5 separate regions of the Homo sapiens genome follow, and all the other regions are linked to region 1. The links are contacts of gene promoters, found by promoter capture Hi-C in blood cells and fetal thymus (Javierre and others, 2016). All regions are on one chromosome and are shown on one strand. Each heading gives the region's core, a stretch centred on a gene start or on the middle of the fragment in contact. The rest is flanking DNA. Distances are from core to core; before and after follow the strand shown.

Region 1 (3,261 bases), core at 416-2,915:
CACAGAGAGGATATAAGACCTTCAAGATGGCTCAAAAGACCTTGGGGTTGATGAACTATGCTGTTACTAAGGACTGTTTGGGGTACATTGATCATTGTTAGGGTAAAAAGCAGGTGATACAGTCCAGTCCTGTCCTCACACTTCACAATTTTTACTGGAGACAAGAATGGGCAGGATAAACTATGGGGCCCATAGGACCCTCCCATCGTCTGCTGTCTATCTGGCCGGAAAGCATGATGATGAACAAAGCAACCTTGCCTCTGTCAGGCACACCTATAATGGTTCCAAGAGCCACATTCCGACTGTTGTACTGCGGGTGGCAATGGAACGGTCTTCCGATTACCTAAAATGCCACAGATTCCCTTCTTCTCTAATACGCATCCGATTACCATAGAACTCTAAGATATCTTTTAAAACCTAGTCATATTAAAAGTTCCTTTTTCTCCATTAATCAGTCTGCCCCAAAGAAGCTTTTCCGTATTTCACAGGATCCTTAGAAGAGGCCAGCTAACTGTGATACCTAGCACCCTTATCTTTTCTCGATACACAGCGTCCTTCCTCCAGCAGAATCCTAAAATAGCAGCAGTCCGGATTAACATGGCTGTGAGGAGTAGGTGCTTAGCTGAATAACATCAGAATTAATGAGGGGCCGGACCCCAAACAGAGCCACCTGGTGGGCATGAACACCAGGCAGTTATGGGGCCGTTTCCTTCAACCAAGTGTCTGGTCCCTGGCTATCTCTGCTTCAGCCAGAACACATTCTGTCCCCCACCGAGGCTTTAAGGGCCAGCGCGCAGCACCCTCACCTTTCAGCAGGTCCGGGTGCACATAGCCCAACACGTCGGAGACCCCCAGCTCCTGGCGCGAACAGGTGCCTCCGTGGATGTGCAACCAGGCGGGCTCGGCGAGGGCAGTGCACAGCGCCGTGATAGACAGGGCGCCAGGCAGGGCCGAGGCCAGGCTACGCTCCGGCTGCTTGGGCAGAGCGCTGCCTCCCGGGCTCCTCCGCCGGCGCCCGCCGGGCAGCCCTGCGCCTCCGGGGGCGTACATGCCCGGGGCCGCCCGCCGTCGCTCCGCAGTCGCTGCTGGTCGCCGCCGACCTCCGCGGGGCGCGCAGAGCCTGACAGTCCGGTGGAGGATAGCAACGCTCCGGGTTCGCTGCAGGTGAAGCCGGGACTGGGCTGTCAGGGTTGACACCAGAGGATAGGGGGGTGGGACCCGGGGCTGACGGAGACGGGGAGGGCTGCGGGAATTCGGGGGGCGGAGACAGGAGACTCCGGAATGGGACTGCGGGACGACAACCGAAGAGGGCCAGGGGCCAGATGGGGTCTGGGCAGACTCGAGTGGGGGGCGGAGGGATCGGGGATCGGCTACTGCTAGAGCAAAGACCCGGAGTCAGGGTCTCAGCCAGAGGATGCCGAGGGGCGGAGGACCGGGCTGGGCCGCGGGGATCGGGGACCCGTGATCTGGGACCGGCGGTTTGGGGTGCGACCTGTGCGCAGAAAAGACCCTCCCCACGCCGCCCACTGTTCCTCACCAGTCAGCAGGCCCCAGGGCTGGGATGGTGCTGCTCAGCCCAGTCACGGGCTTCTCGGCTGCCGGGGGCCGAGCGTTCCCAGGCCCCAATCCCGCAACGCCCGGACAGACCCGGGGCCGATGCACTTCCGGCTTCCTCCTCCTCTGCCTCCGCCTCCTCCGGCTCCCCGCCCCGTCCCCCGCGCGCGTCACAGCCTGGGCGCGCCGCCGGCTCTGCGCAGGGCCTCACGGGACTGGTAGTTCGAGGCGGTCCCGCGATGCTTTCCCTGCCGAGGTGAGGGGAGCGACTACAACTCCCAGAGGGTATGGCGGCCGCAGCAGTGGGCAGTTGAGTTTCCGGGGCGACCCAGGTCCTCCGGCGGAAGCGGGAGCCTCTGTCGGCCGCGGAAGCCTGGAGTGGGCGGTACGCAGACGCGCGCGGTGAGACCCGCTGTCTGCTCAGCGGACTCTGCCCGCCCCCACCTCCCCCTGCGTCGGGCCGACATGAAGGACTCGCTGGTGCTGCTGGGCCGTGTCCCGGCGCACCCGGACTCCCGCTGCTGGTTCCTGGCCTGGAACCCCGCGGGGACCCTGCTGGCCTCGTGCGGCGGCGACCGGAGAATCCGCATCTGGGGCACGGAGGGTAAGGCCCAGCCTGGTTGCGCGGCCCTCAGCGCTGAGGGCTCAGCCTGCGCGTAGTGCAGGCGCTCAGCCTGCAGGGGAGGCTGAACCTGTTCCTGGCGGAGGGAGAGTGGGATGTTAGCCACGCCGAGAAGGGCTTTACAGGCAAAGAAGTCTGCGACTGTTGGGAGGAAAAACGTCAGCAGACAAGCTGAAATGTCAAGGGAATTGTGTTAGCTGCAGAGGCAGGAAAATGGGAAAAGAGAGGTGTTAGGAAAGTGGCCTTCAGAGTAACTTGCGACTGGATGGTCACATTTTATCCCGAGGGCATTGGGGAACCAATAGCAATTTTAGATCAGATTTGTTTTAGAAAGATGCCTCCAGAGGTTGGGCGCGGTGGCTCACGCCTGTAATCCTAGCAGTTTGGGAAGCAGAGGCGGGTAGATCACCTGAGGTCAAGAGGTCAAGACCAGCCTGGCCAACATGGTGAAACCCCGTCTCTACTAAAACTACAAAATTAGCTGGGCGTTGTGGCGGGCACCTGTAATCCCAGCTACTCGGGAGGCTGAGGCAGGAGAATCCCTTGAACCCAGGAGGCGAAGATTGCAGTGAGCCGAGATTGTGCCATTGCACCCCAGCCTGGGCATCAGAGCAAAAACTCCGTCTCAAAAAAAAAAAAAAAAAAAAAAAAAAGCTTCCAGACGAAGTAGATTCATTTGCATCTTTGTAAAAGCTGTGAAATACACTCCCTGAGCTTTCCCCCACTAGCTTGATTCCAGTGCTAGCCCCTGATATTGAATGGCTTCATGGTGCTGCACCCAGCTCCAGAGCCTGGCCTGCGCTCCGCCTTTAGGTGACAGCTGGATCTGCAAGTCTGTCCTTTCTGAAGGCCACCAGCGCACCGTGCGGAAGGTAGCCTGGTCCCCCTGCGGTAATTACCTGGCCTCTGCCAGCTTTGATGCTACCACTTGCATTTGGAAGAAGAACCAGGATGACTTTGAGGTACCCAGGCTGGTTGGGACCAGAATTATTGCCTGTTTCCTCCCCAGGGCTGGTTCAGGAACCTGAGCCAACCTGCGCCAGTTGGGCTGTACCCATGGGAAGGGGCTTAGGGGTGTTAGCTGC
Region 2 (3,470 bases), core at 333-2,832, 450 kb after region 1:
CAAACTGTATTCTTCTGTTGTATGGAAAGCACACCTCAGTAAAGTTGATTTTAAAAAAATCAGATGCCAGAGTTTTAAAGATCAGCAGATTGCATTTTAAAAATCCAGATTATCCAGGCTGGGCTCAGTGGCTCATGCCTGTAATCCCAGCACTTTCGGAGGCCAAGGCGGGCGGATCACAAGGTCGAGATGGAGACCATCCTGGCCAACATGGTGAAACCCCGTTTCTACTAAAAATACAAAAATTAGCTGGGCGTGGTGGCGCGCCTGTAGTCCCAGCTACTTGGGAGGCTGAGGCAGGAGAATCGCTTGAATACAGGAGGTGGAGGTTGCAGTGAGCTGACATGGCGCCACTGCACCCCAGCCTGGCGACAGAGCGAGACTCCATATATATATATAAAAAAAAATCCAGAATTCCAACTGCTCTTGAAAAACTGGAAGATTTAGCCTCACTGAGCTGACATTTCCTTTTAGCTACAATGGCTGGAGCTCACTAGCTGTCGGCTTTTTCAGATGGGTATCTGCCTTTCTATTTTGCCACAAGAAACTTCTATTCCAAACTAGCTTTATCCAGAACAAATTATATTAATCAAAAGAAACAGAAGTTCAGTTCCTTTTCTCTTCCCAAAAGATGTTATGATTGGGGTTCAAGCAAAGAGAGTAAGTGTATAAACGAGAAGCTACGAATCAGGCATAAGTAGAAAAAGAAACAAGAGGAGATGGAAAAGTAAAAGAACCAGGTGCTGTTAATGTCACATAAGTCAAGAAGGCAAGAGTTTCAGGGTAATGGGTTAAATGAGCTGAGGAGGACAAAGGGTGAGAACGAGAATAGAGTACTGAATATGGCAAGGAAACAGAATGACCTTTCATGAGAATGGTGTTAGTGTACTAGCAAGATAGAGCACAGGTCTGAGTCAGCATGTTAAGGAGGTGGACAGCTAGGAAACAAAAGGATCTGTACACACAACACATTCAAAAGTCTCAGCAAAAGGAGAGTCTGGGGTCAGAAGAGGGACGGCAAAGTCAAGGAAAAGCTTTGTTAAGGAAGGGGAACGGGGAACATTAGTGGTTGGAAGGAGAGGAGCCTGACAGCAGAAATCAGAAAGCAAGGAACTCACGATACAGGCTAGAAGAGCCAGCTTAATGAAGGGACAAACACTGCTTTCTATTAGCACCAACCATCTTCTAGTGACAACTGTACTAGGAAAGCCTGGCGTGGGTTTTTAAGGAATGTGGATATAAGAATGCAGAAGGAGAAGCAGTCTTGAGGCACCTCCTTCCAGAGCACCGCTCCTCTGGCTCTCCCCTGTGAGAGGCCTCAATGAAGTGTGGGTATTGAGAAGAGGCCTCAGTCAGGGCAAACCAAGAGTGCGCGTGGCAGTACCTGAGAGATCCCCAGTGATGGAGGAGGTGCCGAAGTAGTAGCCGCGGGGCAGGCGGACTCCGGGCACTTCAATGCAGTCCCTCCACTCATGCTTGCCATCAATATCCATCATTATCTAGAATAAAAAGAGAGATAAATCAGGGTCAGGCCATGGGAGCAAGAGCGACACAGCCCACACCACCATCTGGTCCAGGACAAGGACTCTCACCGTCAAATGCCTCTTGACGTAGCGAATCACCAGGAAGGTGTCGTAATGAAGATTGCGGACAATGGCTGTGCAGCCTCCCAGCTCTGTAGGCCGCCCATCCCGCTCATGATCATAGCTGAGGGAGCCGTTGTTCACCATGGCTGAGATGTAGGGGAATACCCGCTGGAAAGCAGAGAGGGGGAAGCAGACACTAAGGAAGAGCACATAGGAACGCCTGTACAAACAGCAACAGGAATTCAGCACATACAAGTTGAGCCCCTTACAGCAGAATAGGCAGCCACTCGACCTCATTGTCAGCAGCCCCTGAGAGCCCACATTCAGATGGTCTCTCAAGGGAAATGGGCCCAGGAAGCGACTACACTTGGTATTTGCCTTCAGTAATTCTCTTGGCTCCTGAACTGGGGTGGGCCTGAAGTGGTCCTCCTAAGACGCTGGAGTCTGACTTGAATGCCCCAAGGTCACCATTTGGCACTTATGTGCCGCCTAATACCAGGGGTTTCCTTTTCGTGTATATGTACCTATCTCCCCAACTGCCACATAAGCTTCTTGAAGAAAAAATTCATTCATCACGTCTTCATATGTCTAAACTTCAGCCCCATCTCCTCCCAACCATGGTTCTGCACACAGCGGGTATTCTGAAAATACCTGTTTGAGCAGGGGAATCTTTCCATTCAGGATAGCTCTTTTCAATTCTAAAATTCTATAAGCATATAAGGCTAAATGGATTAGAACTCAGAACATGGAACGGGGTTGCTGGATGGGCTCAGCCAGCCACAATGACTGTCCTTAGTCAAAAGACTTTCCAGCCCACTTAAGCCTCCTCCACACGTAACTTCTCCGAATAATAATAAGAGGGCAAGGTTCTCCCTTAACAGGGAGAAAATTGCAAGTTTTCCCATAAGCCACTCATTTTCCCATCTATTTCAGGGGCCCTCTCTCCCCAGTAGAGTTGTAGGAGCAATTCTTCCTTAGAAATGGCGAACTAATCATTCCAGAACAAGCCCAATGCCAAGGCAGTGCAAAAAGGCAGGGTAGTGAGGTGGTGAAGGGGTAACATGAGGCATGCCACTCCTTTGGGGAGTATTTGTCCCTTTGTCCCAAATGGTTAACATGCAAGATGGAGATGCAGTCGAGACCAGAGACCGGGGACTCCTGAGACAACCACATGGACTTGAAACAGCAACAAATGTTGGATGGACACATGGGAATGAGGGATGCTCATGATGAGCCAAGAACTGAGTACCTGGACTCCTGGAGAATATCGCCTCTTCTGGGCCTGAGAGGGTCCAGCAGGTTATGATAAAAACAAGAGAGGGCACAGAAGACAGGAGACCAAGTCAGAAAGACACAGCCACAGAAGAGCTATGACCCAGCTGTGATGGATGAACAAACCAACTTAAATCCCCAAACAGAATTTTAGGGTCCCTGAAGGGCATCCGTGAAGTCTTTGCACCCTCAAGATGATAGGCAAAACCATATGCACGGGTGCTTGTACATTTTTCTGAGGAGAGGGTCTGTTACTATATCAGATTCTCAAAGGGGTCCCCTAGGAAGACCGCTCTAACCCATAGAGGGTCCTGAAGCTTTTGGAAGGCACTTTATAAAACACATAGCAGTACGCTGTCCAGGCACGCCGCACTTATGTCTCTGGGAGTCAGTCTCAAGTTTGTCTGTACCCAGCCTACTGTATTTCTATAGCAAGGGGAAAGAGGAGACAACAGGGCTAAATTCTTCCAAATTCAAGACATCCTTTACTATCCAGGATCTCAGGAAACAGCTCCTGCCCAGAAGACCAAAATCTTGCCACTTGAGAGACTATGAAACTAACTCTAATCCAAAGGGATCACTTACCCTCTAACTGAGCCTTATGGTCATATA
Region 3 (3,556 bases), core at 131-2,630, 310 kb after region 1:
TGGAGGCATGCACGTAAACAGAGGGTGGGAGATAAACCCCATGAAAATTCAAAGGCTTATGATCTCAAAGCTTCCAGAGATCTAGTGTGACGAGCTTGTTAAGATTGCCTCTCCAAGGCAAAAGACAAGTTGCTGTACTTTGCATCACCTACAACTAAAAAATAAAGAAAATCCTTGGTGGATCCTTCTTGGCATTTGGAGGCAATGCATACCAAACTTGAGTGTGTTATTTCAACCCATTTACTGAGTAATCAATTTTGAGCAGAGACTAAAGCAATCTCTTGCTCTGCATCAAGCCCAGGCTGAAGAACAAGCCTTATGACCCCACAGATCCAATGCTAGTAAAAGTGCCTGTGACAAACAGGCTGGTCTGTGGAGCCTGTGACAAGCATTAATAGGACAATCACAGTACAGAACTCTGGAGTGTGGAGGCAAATCCATGCCCTCTTCTCCAAGTAACTAATATCTGTTTGAAAAAGATTCTGCTTTTCTACTGGCCCTTAGTAAAGAATAAACACTGAACCATGAGATATCAAGTAACCTTGTGACCTGAGCTTTCCATCATGAATTTATAGTTATTGACACACCTAGCCACAGATTAGACCTGTGCAGCAAAAATAGAAAAGGCTGGACTCAAGCAGGTCCAGAGGACAGAAGTAAGTCAGACTCCTTCGACACTGACTCTGGCTGCATTGCCTCCTCCCCCTCAATCCTCATCTATGCCTGCTGGGAGTTCCTTATGACTAGGTAGCTGAGAAGGAAATAATCTGGGCTTGATTTGCAGGCAGTTCTCTATATGTTGGAACCAACAGAAAGTGGATGGCAATATTACAATCTCACTTGGGTGTCTCTGAAGGACAGTGATAAACAGAAGACTTCCTATTCAGCAGAACTTGGAGCTGTTTGGTTATCCACTTTGTTTGAACTGAGAGATGACCAGAAGTACAGATCTGCTGACTAAAGGAAGATTTCTAATTAATGACTGGATGGTTATGGAGGGACAAGGGTTGGAACATTGGTGATGAGATCTGGGGAAATTATATAGATAAACTTCTCAAACTGGGCACAAAGGGGAACAGATATTTGGGTCCCAAATATCTGATGTGGATACTCACTGGAAGGCATGCATTACAGAGGCTTGCAACAATGGGCTTGTGGTTCATGAAACTCATTGGTCTTACCAGAGATCCCATCGTGAAGAGGTCAGTCTGAACAGTGGGATGGCCTACTAGATAATTACCTAGGGCACCAGATGGGAGTCAACACCCTGAAAGAATAGGGTTTTATCTTATAGGATGCAATATATCCTTCAAATCAAAGACCTATTCATAGTGCTGTCTCTTCATGGGCCCAGGAAGCAAGAACAGAAAAGAAAGCAGGTCTTCCCACTAGCACACATAATGACCAGTCACTTCTCATCTCCACAATTTTGAGCTCTGCTTGCTTGGAAGGTCTTGGTTCCCAAGGGAGGACTATTTCCACCAGGGACCCAACAATGGCTCCATCAAACTGGAAGCTGAGACTGCCTCCATTTAGACATTTTTGGGTGCCTCATGACATTAAATCAAAAAAGAGCAGTGACTTTGCGGGCTGAAGTGACTGACCCCAATTATCAAGGGAAAATTGGGGTTATTACCACACGATCGTGGCAGAGGACTAGGTCTGGAACCCAGGGGATTTTCTGGGGCTCCAATGAACACTTCTAGCAAAAGTTAGTGCTGGCTTCTCCCCCTGCCACATGCACGAATATTTTCCCTTTTGGCTGTGCATTATTTAGTGGCTTTAGGACTAAACTGCTTAGGAAGAGAGGGAAAAAGACAAACCTACAGATTTGAAATTATTGTCCCTTGTTCCAGTTTTCCCTCTCCTTTGCATCTTTTGCTGCTCACCCTTCCCTGTTCTAACTCTCCACTTTTTTTCCATAGGGACCATCTGGTCTAGAATGACTGCTGACCTAATCTGGAATCAATCTCATTTGGTGCTGGGCATGATCCACATAAGAAGAGTCCCACTCCCCACTGCCTTGGTCTGCTTCTCCACTCTCGGAGAGGGCTCACCATGAGAAGCCCTGGCTTAGATCCTCCAGGACAGGTGCTCTCTAGGGAAGTCTGAACACATGGACCAAGAACCAAGTGGTCAAGCCTGGTTTCCACCTTCCTCAGTAATCACTTTAAGCCTGACAAGTTATGGGAAAATGGGATGCCCAGCATTGCCAGAGCCTACGACACCCATGTAGGAGCCATCTACCCATCCAATTAGCCAGACTGTCAATTCAACATGACATACAATTCTTCCTCAAAACCAGATTTGGTACAGATACTCCCTCTTCCTTGCCTGTTACCACCCATATTTGGCACCTCCCACGTGGTCTCTGGGCACTGTGAGCAAGCACAGTGTGTGCTTTTACAGGCCATTTAGATAAGAGGTTTGCAACCAATCAACCCTTTACCTATCATGGATAGGCCATGAGCTACTATTCAGTTTCCGAGCACAGCAGGCTTACCCACCACAACCCTGAGAGCCAAGTCATTGCGATTAGAGATTGCTTGAGAGTGGGCTTTGCAGTGGACTGCCAGAATTCGGCTATGGTTCTGCCACTTACCAGCTGTGTGATTTGGGCAAGTTACTTAACCTCTCTGTGCCTCAGTTTTTCCCTGAACTATAGAATACCAGTAATGATGGCCTAGGATAAAGCTTGAATGTAAGCATTGTTATTGTTCTCCCTACTTGGGGGAGGAGGGGGTGGGTGGAATCAATGCCAAGATGCAAGCAGGACTCAGAATTAACAAATGACACAGAGACAGAGCTGAGAATGGGGGCCAGGGTCCTAATTCTTTTTTTATTTCTTTTTTTTTTTTGAGACAGGGTCTTGCTCCGTCTCCCAGGATATGGAGTGCAGTAGCTCAATCATGGCTTACCGAAGCTTTGAACTCTCGGGCTCAAGAAACCTTCCCACCTCAGTCTCTTGAGTAACTGGGACTACAGGTGCATGCCACCATGTCTGGCTAATTAAAAAAAATTTTTTTTTTGGAGACAGGGGTCTCACTATGTTACCCAGGCTGGTCTTGAACTCCCGGTCTCAAGTGATCCTCCCTTCTCCTGAGTAGCTGAGTTTACAGGCGTGTACCCGCCTGGCTAATGAGTCCTAATACTTTTTTTTTTGAGACAGTGTCTCGCTCTGTCACCCAGGTTGGAGTGCAGTGGCGTGATCTCGGCTCACTGCAAGCTCCACCACCTGGGTTCAAGCTATTCTCCTGCCTCAGCCTCCTGAGTAACTGGGACTACAGGGACCCGCCACCACGCCCGGCTAATTTTTTTCTATTTTTAGTACCGACGAGATTTCACCGTGTTAGCCAGGATGGTCTCGATCTCATGACCTCATGATCTGCCTGCCTCGGCCTCCCAAAGTGCTGGGATTACAGGTGTGAGCCACCGTGCCCGGCCTAATGAGTCCTAATTCTTAATCCTTGGCCTTTCTCTTCAAGTTGCAAGTTGGGGCAGGAAACAAAGGTCAATGCAGGGCAGAGAATTTCTCCTCACGTGCCCCTCCCTTTTT
Region 4 (3,548 bases), core at 116-2,615, 480 kb after region 1:
TGTCAGGAGTTTAAGACCAGCCTGGCCAACAAACATGGTGAAACCCTGTCTCTACTAAAAATACATAAAAAATTTGCCGGGCATCATGGCACGTGTGTGTAATCCCAGCTACTTGGGAGGCTGAGATATGAGAATCTCTTGAGCCTGGGAGGCAGAGGTTGCAGTGAGCCAAGATCGCGCCACTATACTCCAGCCTGGACAACGGAGTCTACAAAGTGAGATGGAAGGAAGACAAAAGGATGGGGAATTTCTTTACTGTAGGTGCTTTTCAGAAGCACAAGCTTCAGCTAAGTTCAACACAGTCAAGGTGTTGAGGGGTGGTAGTGGGAAAGAGAACAAGTAGCCATGGCCCCTTCAACGCCACCTTTTACTCACACGCAGAGGCACCTCCGAAAGCTGGCTCAGGTCTTGCGCTACCATCCTTTCAGCTGCCTAGTGGTCCCCTTTTTCTCTGTGGAATCATCTATCTCCCACGATCTAGGGCTGCACAACTTCAGGGCCGGGGTATTCATATGCAATGTGAGTTGTGCATTCCAGCAGTTCTGCATGATTCCTCTACCTTCCTGTCTTCCAAACCAAAGAGCAGGGCTGGGCGCAGTGGCTCATGCCTGTAATTCTAGCACTTTGGGAGGATCGCTTGAGCCCAGGAGTTCAAGATCAGCCTGGGCAAGATGTTGAGACCCTGTCCCTTTTAAAAAATTAAAAACAACAACAACCAAAGAAGTACCTCCACTCAGGAGCACCTTGAAGCCTGATGCCCCTTCACCCCATGACAGAGGCTCCAGGGCAGCCTCTTGGCCTATTCTTTCCACTGCTTCTCACCCTTCTTTTACAAACCTTGCCATTCAATTCTGATCCACCCCCTCCCAGGACAGAAGCAGCCCTCCCTAGGCCAAGTACAACCATCCATCCATCCTCAGGTATCCAGTGTGTCAGGTCCATCTTCAGCCCAATAGTCACAGCTGACCGGGTCCTACCAACTGTACCTCCAGTTCCCCAGGTAGCCACTGAAGCATACAAGAGGATAGCAGCTCCAACACTAACTAGCTAGCTACTTCCCAGCGGTGACTTCTCAACATTGGACTCCTGAAAGCCACAGTCAAATATCCTGGGGTAGGTACCTTTGCCTGAGCCCTACTGCCAGACACGTGACTCAACAAGTGTAGGGATTTAGCTTTGAAGAAAAAAAAATAAAACCTGGAGAATTTAATTTTTTTTTTTGAGAGAGAGTCTCACTCTATCACCCAGTGGAGGGCAGTGGTGTGATCACAGCTCACTGCAACCTCTGCCTCCCAGGCTCAAGCCATCCTCCCACCTCAGCCTCCTGAGTAGCTGGGACCACAGGCACATGCCACCACACCCAGCTAAATTTTATATTTTTTGTAGAGACGGGGTTTCACCATGTTGGCCAGGCTGGTCTCGAACTCCTGGGTTCAAGCAATCCGCCCACTTCAGCGTCCCAAAGTACTGGGATTACAGGCGTGAGCCACCATGCCTGGCCTTTTTTTTTTTCTTTTAAGAGATGGGGTCTTGTTCTGTCACCCAGGCTAGAGTGCAGTGGTGTGAACTGCAGCCTCAAACTCCTGGGCTCAAGGGATTCTCCTGGCTCAAACTCCTGGGCTCAAGGGATCCTCCTGCCTTAGCCTTCTGAGTAGTTGGAATACAGTCAGGTGTCACCATGCCTGGCTATTATTTTATTTTTTGTAGAGATAATGTCTTGCTATTTGCCCAGGCTGGTCTTGAACTCCCGGGCTCGAGGCATCCTACTACCTTGGCCCTCGAAAGTGTTGGAATTATAGGCATGAGCCATCGTGCCCACCCCACCCTCCACCAGAGAATTTAATACGCAGCCCAGTTTTCAGAACTACAGCCCTTTCACATGCAGTATCTCATTTTGACCTCACAATGACTTGTTGTGGTAATCTTTAAGATTAGGACAGGCTGGGCTCAGTGGCTCACACCTGCAGTACGAGCACTTTGGAGGCCGAGGCAGGAGGATCACTTGAATTCAGGAGTTTGACACCAGCCTGGGCAACATAGTAAGACCCCGTCTCTAAAAAATACAAAAAATACAAAAAATTGTCTGGGTGTGCTAGTGTGCGCCGGTAGGCCCAGCTACTTGGGAGGCTGCGACATTTTACCCCGGGGGTCAAGGCTGTAGTGAGCCATGATCAGGCCACTCCACTCCAGCCTGGGTGACAGAGAAAGACCCTATCTCTTAAAAAAAAAAAATGACAAGAACAGTTCATAGAGGCTCCAACTCCTGAATTTAAAGATAAGAATTAAAGATTTGCTTTAAGATACTCTAGAGGAATATCGTGTGTGTGTGTTTAGAAGGGTAGGATGGATAAACAAAAAAAGCATCAGGATGTTGAGAACTGCTGCAGCTGAGATAGGGGTGCACAACACTCCCTCCAGCTTCATGGATGTGTGAGAGTTGCCGTAAGGAAAAGCTTCTCAAAGTCTCCCGTGGAGATGATGAGGAAATATGCTGGGTATGCATTTGTGGTGTTTTCTAAATTTCCCTGAGGGAAGGAAAACTGTAATTAACTATAATCTAGTAAAGTTCATTGTGACCCATCCAATATAATGTTGTCATAACTAAAGAGAGAGGCGTCTGCAATCTAGAAAAAGAACAGTCAAGGGATGAAAATAAGTCAGAGTTGTATCAGTTCTGTCCAGGAAAGAGAGTGCTTCTAAGCAGCCTGTGTTAGATCTCCATATAACTTTATTCAAATAAAGCCTATTTTCTGAGCGTATTTATAAAGACTTCCAGCCTAACGTTCTAATCCTCTTAGCAGTTTAATTTTTCTGTATAAATTAAGAAATTAGTGTGTATTTGGGTTTATCACTTAGTTATTAGTTTAGCCAGAGTGACTTAGCCCTCCCAGTCTGTTTATTTGCAGGGGAATTGATAAAAACCAGTATCCTGAGGACCAGATCTCAGATCTATGGTGGCTCTCCTTGCAGTGGCAGAGCTCCCACAATTCAGCAATGCCTCTGGGGATCCAGATGCTTGCTTCCCACAGAGTTAGGGCATAAGATTCGCCAAGGATCGTAGAATGGGGTGTGGTGAAGGAGGAGAACTCTGGCATATCTGATTGGAGTTGGAATGAAACTTCTGCCTTTTGAGACCCAGCTGTACTGTATGATCTCAGGAAAATTACGTAATCTCTCTGAGTCTCAGATCTTCTGTCTGTAAAATGAGTGTGATGAAACCCACCACACTGGACTTCTGAAAGCATGAAATGAAAGACTGGGCTAGGCACAGTGGCTCACACCTGTAATCCCAGCACTTTGGGAGGCCAAGACAGGCAGATGACCTGAGGTCAGGAGTTTGAGACCAGCCTGGCCAACACGGTGAAACTCCGTCTCTACTAAAAATACAAAAATTAGCCAGGCATGATGGCACGCATCTGTAATCCCAGTTACTTGTGGGGGCTGAGGCAGGAGAATCGCTTGAACCCAGGAGGTGGAGGTTGCAATGAGCCGAGATCACGCCACTATACTCCAGCCTGGGCGACAGAGCGAGACTCTGTCTCAAATAA
Region 5 (3,543 bases), core at 403-2,902, 390 kb after region 1:
AACAATTACAACAGAGCAGATCCTGGTTTACAGAGGTCTGGGAGTATTGCTATTGGAGGTTCGAAGCACAGACCCAGACCATGTATGTCTCATTGCTGCTGGAGCCCCAAATTGTAGCACTGTGCCTGATACACAGTAGGTGCTCCATAAATACTTGTTGAATTAATTAGTAAATGAACAAATAAAAGATAAAAGCACAGTGGAAGCTGGAAGGAGTAAGTGAGTAATGAGGCTGGGGGTGGCGGAGAGGACTCAGAAGGGCTCCAGCAACCCTGAAGGAAGATTTTACCAGGGAAAGACAGACAGGATGGGAAAAGATAATTCAGGAAAAAGTCATGGTGTTTTCAAAGGCCTGGAACCAAGCAAGCCGCAGACTTGACAGCAGAACTATAGCTATGGGTGTGGCTGGAGGAGACTGGCTGGAGGGGAGCCTACAGTGTGGGCTGGGGTCCCATCCTGGACACTACTCAGGAGCCATGGAGGACTTAAGCAGAGGAGTGACAGGCCTAGGTTTGCATTTGGGAAAGAAGTTTCTGGCTGCCACGGGGAGCAGGGACAGAGTGGACTGGCAGGGCAACCTAGAAGGAGGTGTGGGCTCAAATCTCCATCCTGGGCAGCTAGCTGGGCCCTGAGTTCTCCAGGAATCTCCTACCATTCCCCATTCTGGGCAGAAAACCCTCCAGGAGGCTGGGCTTGGTGGCTCATGCCTGTAATTCCAGAACTTTGGGAGACCGTGGTGAGTGGATCACCTGAGGTCCGGAGTTCGAAACCATCCTGACCAATATGGTGAAACCCTGTCTCTTTTGTAAAAATACAAAAATTAGCCACATGCAGTGGCAGGTGCCTGTAATCCCATCTACTCAGGAGGCTGAGGCAGGAGAATCGTTTGAACCCGAGGTTGCAGTGAGTTGAGATTGCACCACCACACTCCAGCCTAGGTGACAGAGCGAGACTCCGCCTAAAAATAGGAAACCCTCTAGGAGCCCGGGAGGCCTCTGCTTCTGGGGGAGCATGAGAGAAGTGGCACAAGTTGAGTATCCCTTACCCAAAATGCATGGTATCAGAAGTGTTTTGGATTTCAGATTTTTTTTGGGAATCTGGAATATTTGCATTGTACCAGTTCAGCATTCGTAATAATGAAAATCTGAAACCCAGAATGCTCCAGTGAGCATTTCCTTTGAGGGTCATGTTGGCACTCAGAAAGTTTCAGATTTTGGAGCATTTTTTATTTCAGATTTTTGGATTAGGAATACTCAGCCTGTACTTGTAAACCCATTGAAATGGGTAAAGTTGTGGAAAGAAGCACATTATTCTGAGCTTTCAGGTTTACTGAGTGCTTGGGTGAAGTGGCGGAAGAAATCATCCACTCTACCCCAATTCTCTTTGCCTCAGATCTTCTTCCAGAATTTTCATGAGGTTCCTGCAAAGTTCTTTGATGAGACCATCTTAATCCAGGTGAGGAGCCAAACTGGTCCCCAGCAAGGTGGGTTTCTTGTCCCACTTCAATACTGGGAAGCACTACAGCTCCAGCCCCCACCCTTAGAGCCAGGGGCACTTCAGATTGTCTTCCTGATCCCCACCACTTTCTTCACCCCCTGGCACCCAGATTATTCATTCATTTACTCATTTATTCAACAAATGTTGTGGATTGCCAACTGCCAGGCCCTGAACTGGGCGCCAAGGTGAACAAGGCAGCCCCTTCCCATGTGCCAGGATTTTCAAGCCACCAAAGGCCCCTCCAAGTAGAATACTCCATTCCCTAACCAAAGGGAGCCAGTAACAATGTGGAACATGTGGTTATCAGGTGCCTACTATGTGCCCAGCACAGGGCTAAGGAGAACAAAGAGGCCTCTTCCTTTGAAGAATTTACTGTTCTTGGGAACAAAGGCACAGAGGAAACAACCAGGAGAGCATGTAATGGATAACGTTGAGTGCAACACCTTGCTTTGTGTTGACTTGGGGCAAGGAAATTGACCTCTCTGATCAATTTCCTCATCAGTAAAATGGAATTAAAAATCTGAACCTCACAGGGTTCCTCTGAGAGTGAAATGAGAACACCCATGTGCAAGTGTCTGCCCCATTAGGAAGCATTCAATACGTCAGGAGGATCCTGGTTGTGCCTTTGCTATACCTCTTACAGGGGCTGAGGGAAATTGGGATTGTGAATAATTAAAATATTTCTGGGAACTCCCTTGCAGGTGGTGAACTCCTCAGCAATGAGATACAAAGCAGAGATCGGGAGATTTCAAGTGAGTACTGTACATGGGAGGAGGTTCAGTGAAACAGTTATTAAAACAGAGACCCATGCTGGGCTCCATGCCCAAGTCTAGGGAAAAGGACTTGGATTTTCACACAGAAAGATCCAGACTTGGCCGGGTGCAGTGGCTCGCACCTGTAATCCCAGCACTTTGGGAGGCCGAGGCCGGTGGATCACGAGGTCAGGAGATCGAGACCATCGTGGCTAACACAGTGAAACCCTGTCTCTACTAGAAATACAAAAAATTAGCGGGGTGAGGTGGCGGGTGCCTGTAGTCCCAGCTACTCAGGAGGCTGAGGCAGGAGAATTGCTTGAACCCAGGAGGCGGAGCTTGCAGTGAGCCGAGACCGCACCACTGCACTCCAGCCTGGGCGACAGGGTGAGACTCCATCTCAAAAAAAAAAAAAAAAAAAAGAAGAAGAAAGATCCAGGCTTGTATCCACCTACCAACTGGGTGACTTAAACAAGTTATTCTGAACCTCTACTTCCTCATCTTTAAAAGGGAGATGATAATATACTCGATCTGGGGGGTGATTGTGAGGATTAAAGTATATATAACGTTTATGAAAGCTCAGGGCGCCATGTTGAATTCCACACTCCCATGATACTGTGGACACAGTTCAAATCTCTGCCTCCAGGAAGTAGAAGCAGAGGATCCAAAAGGTCAGCCTACATGTTAGGGAAACTCAGAGAAATATTGCTGCCTGTGAGGACAGAGTGAAAAGATGTGATTTGGGAAGACAGGCTGAGAGATTAGGAGAGTTTACAGTCATGATGGGCTAAACTAAGATTCTCCAAATCCAAAAAGATCAGGAAAAGGTAGGTTGCTAGGTTAAATACAGGATGCCTGGTTACATTTAATCTTAGATAAACAAAAAATACATTTTAAATATAAGTATGTCCCAAATATTACATGGCTTCTCACCAAATATTGCAGGGGACGTATGTGTATTAAGAAAGTAGTCATTGTTCATCTGAAATTTTAATTTAAGTGGGCATCTTCTGTTTTTGTTTACTAAATCTACAATGTTAGGAAACGGGCACCACCCTTGGAAAAAAACATAGAGAGACAGAGATTCTAGAAATGTTAGATGGTAGGAGGTGAAAAATGTTGTGCTCTTGACAAAGGCCACCGCATGATTTCTAGACAGTGACCAATGACATAAGCTAAGTTATAGAGGTCAGAGAAAACCTGAGTTTAACCAAGCTTCTTCTTTTTTTTTGAGACGTGATCTTGCTTTGTCACCCAGGCTGGATTGCAGTGGTGCAATCCCGGCTCACTGCAG

What was found. Contacts are between HindIII fragments. The CHiCAGO score rates a contact against its expected background, and 5 or more counts as called.
Region 2: a contact is called between a fragment that was not itself captured here and the fragment with the promoter of TMEM127 in region 1, in 1 of 17 cell types (total CD8 T cells). The highest score is 9.1, in total CD8 T cells.
Region 3: a fragment that was not itself captured here is called in contact with the fragment with the promoter of TMEM127 in region 1 in 5 of 17 cell types (total CD8 T cells, naive CD8 T cells, activated CD4 T cells and 2 more); the score reaches 7.6 in total CD8 T cells.
Region 4: a contact is called between a fragment that was not itself captured here and the fragment with the promoter of TMEM127 in region 1, in 9 of 17 cell types (monocytes, total B cells, non-activated CD4 T cells and 6 more). The highest score is 8.2, in monocytes.
Region 5: a fragment that was not itself captured here is called in contact with the fragment with the promoter of TMEM127 in region 1 in 2 of 17 cell types (monocytes and M0 macrophages); the score reaches 7.0 in monocytes.

What each region holds. Positions count from the first base shown.
Region 1 is chr2:96,264,332-96,267,592 of GRCh38, forward strand. It overlaps TMEM127 (transmembrane protein 127), which reads right to left and starts at 1,666. Exons shown (of 4, transcript NM_017849.4): 1 at 1,538-1,666; 2 at 807-1,181. The coding sequence starts at 1,050. CIAO1 (cytosolic iron-sulfur assembly component 1) reads left to right here and starts at 1,894. Exons shown (of 7, transcript NM_004804.3): 1 at 1,894-2,158; 2 at 2,990-3,138. The coding sequence starts at 2,020. RefSeq lists silencers at 926-1,235, 1,286-1,495, 1,506-1,555 and enhancers at 1,786-1,975, 2,206-2,485, 3,083-3,261. The HindIII fragment of the contact is 2,360 bases long and covers 469-2,828 here.
Region 2 is chr2:96,710,272-96,713,741 of GRCh38, forward strand. It overlaps LMAN2L (lectin, mannose binding 2 like), which reads right to left. Exons shown (of 8, transcript NM_030805.4): 5 at 1,593-1,754; 6 at 1,385-1,499. Among named protein-coding and RNA genes, the nearest start is that of LMAN2L, 28 kb to the right of the region's middle. The HindIII fragment of the contact is 1,100 bases long and covers 1,033-2,132 here.
Region 3 is chr2:96,575,310-96,578,865 of GRCh38, forward strand. No RefSeq gene overlaps it. Among named protein-coding and RNA genes, the nearest start is that of ARID5A, 40 kb to the left of the region's middle. The HindIII fragment of the contact is 2,624 bases long and covers 69-2,692 here.
Region 4 is chr2:96,744,751-96,748,298 of GRCh38, forward strand. No RefSeq gene overlaps it. Among named protein-coding and RNA genes, the nearest start is that of LMAN2L, 6.5 kb to the left of the region's middle. The HindIII fragment of the contact is 2,172 bases long and covers 280-2,451 here.
Region 5 is chr2:96,652,248-96,655,790 of GRCh38, forward strand. FER1L5 (fer-1 like family member 5) reads left to right here. Exons shown (of 53, transcript NM_001293083.2): 8 at 1,393-1,455; 9 at 2,199-2,249. Among named protein-coding and RNA genes, the nearest start is that of FER1L5, 11 kb to the left of the region's middle. The HindIII fragment of the contact is 3,620 bases long and covers 1-3,462 here.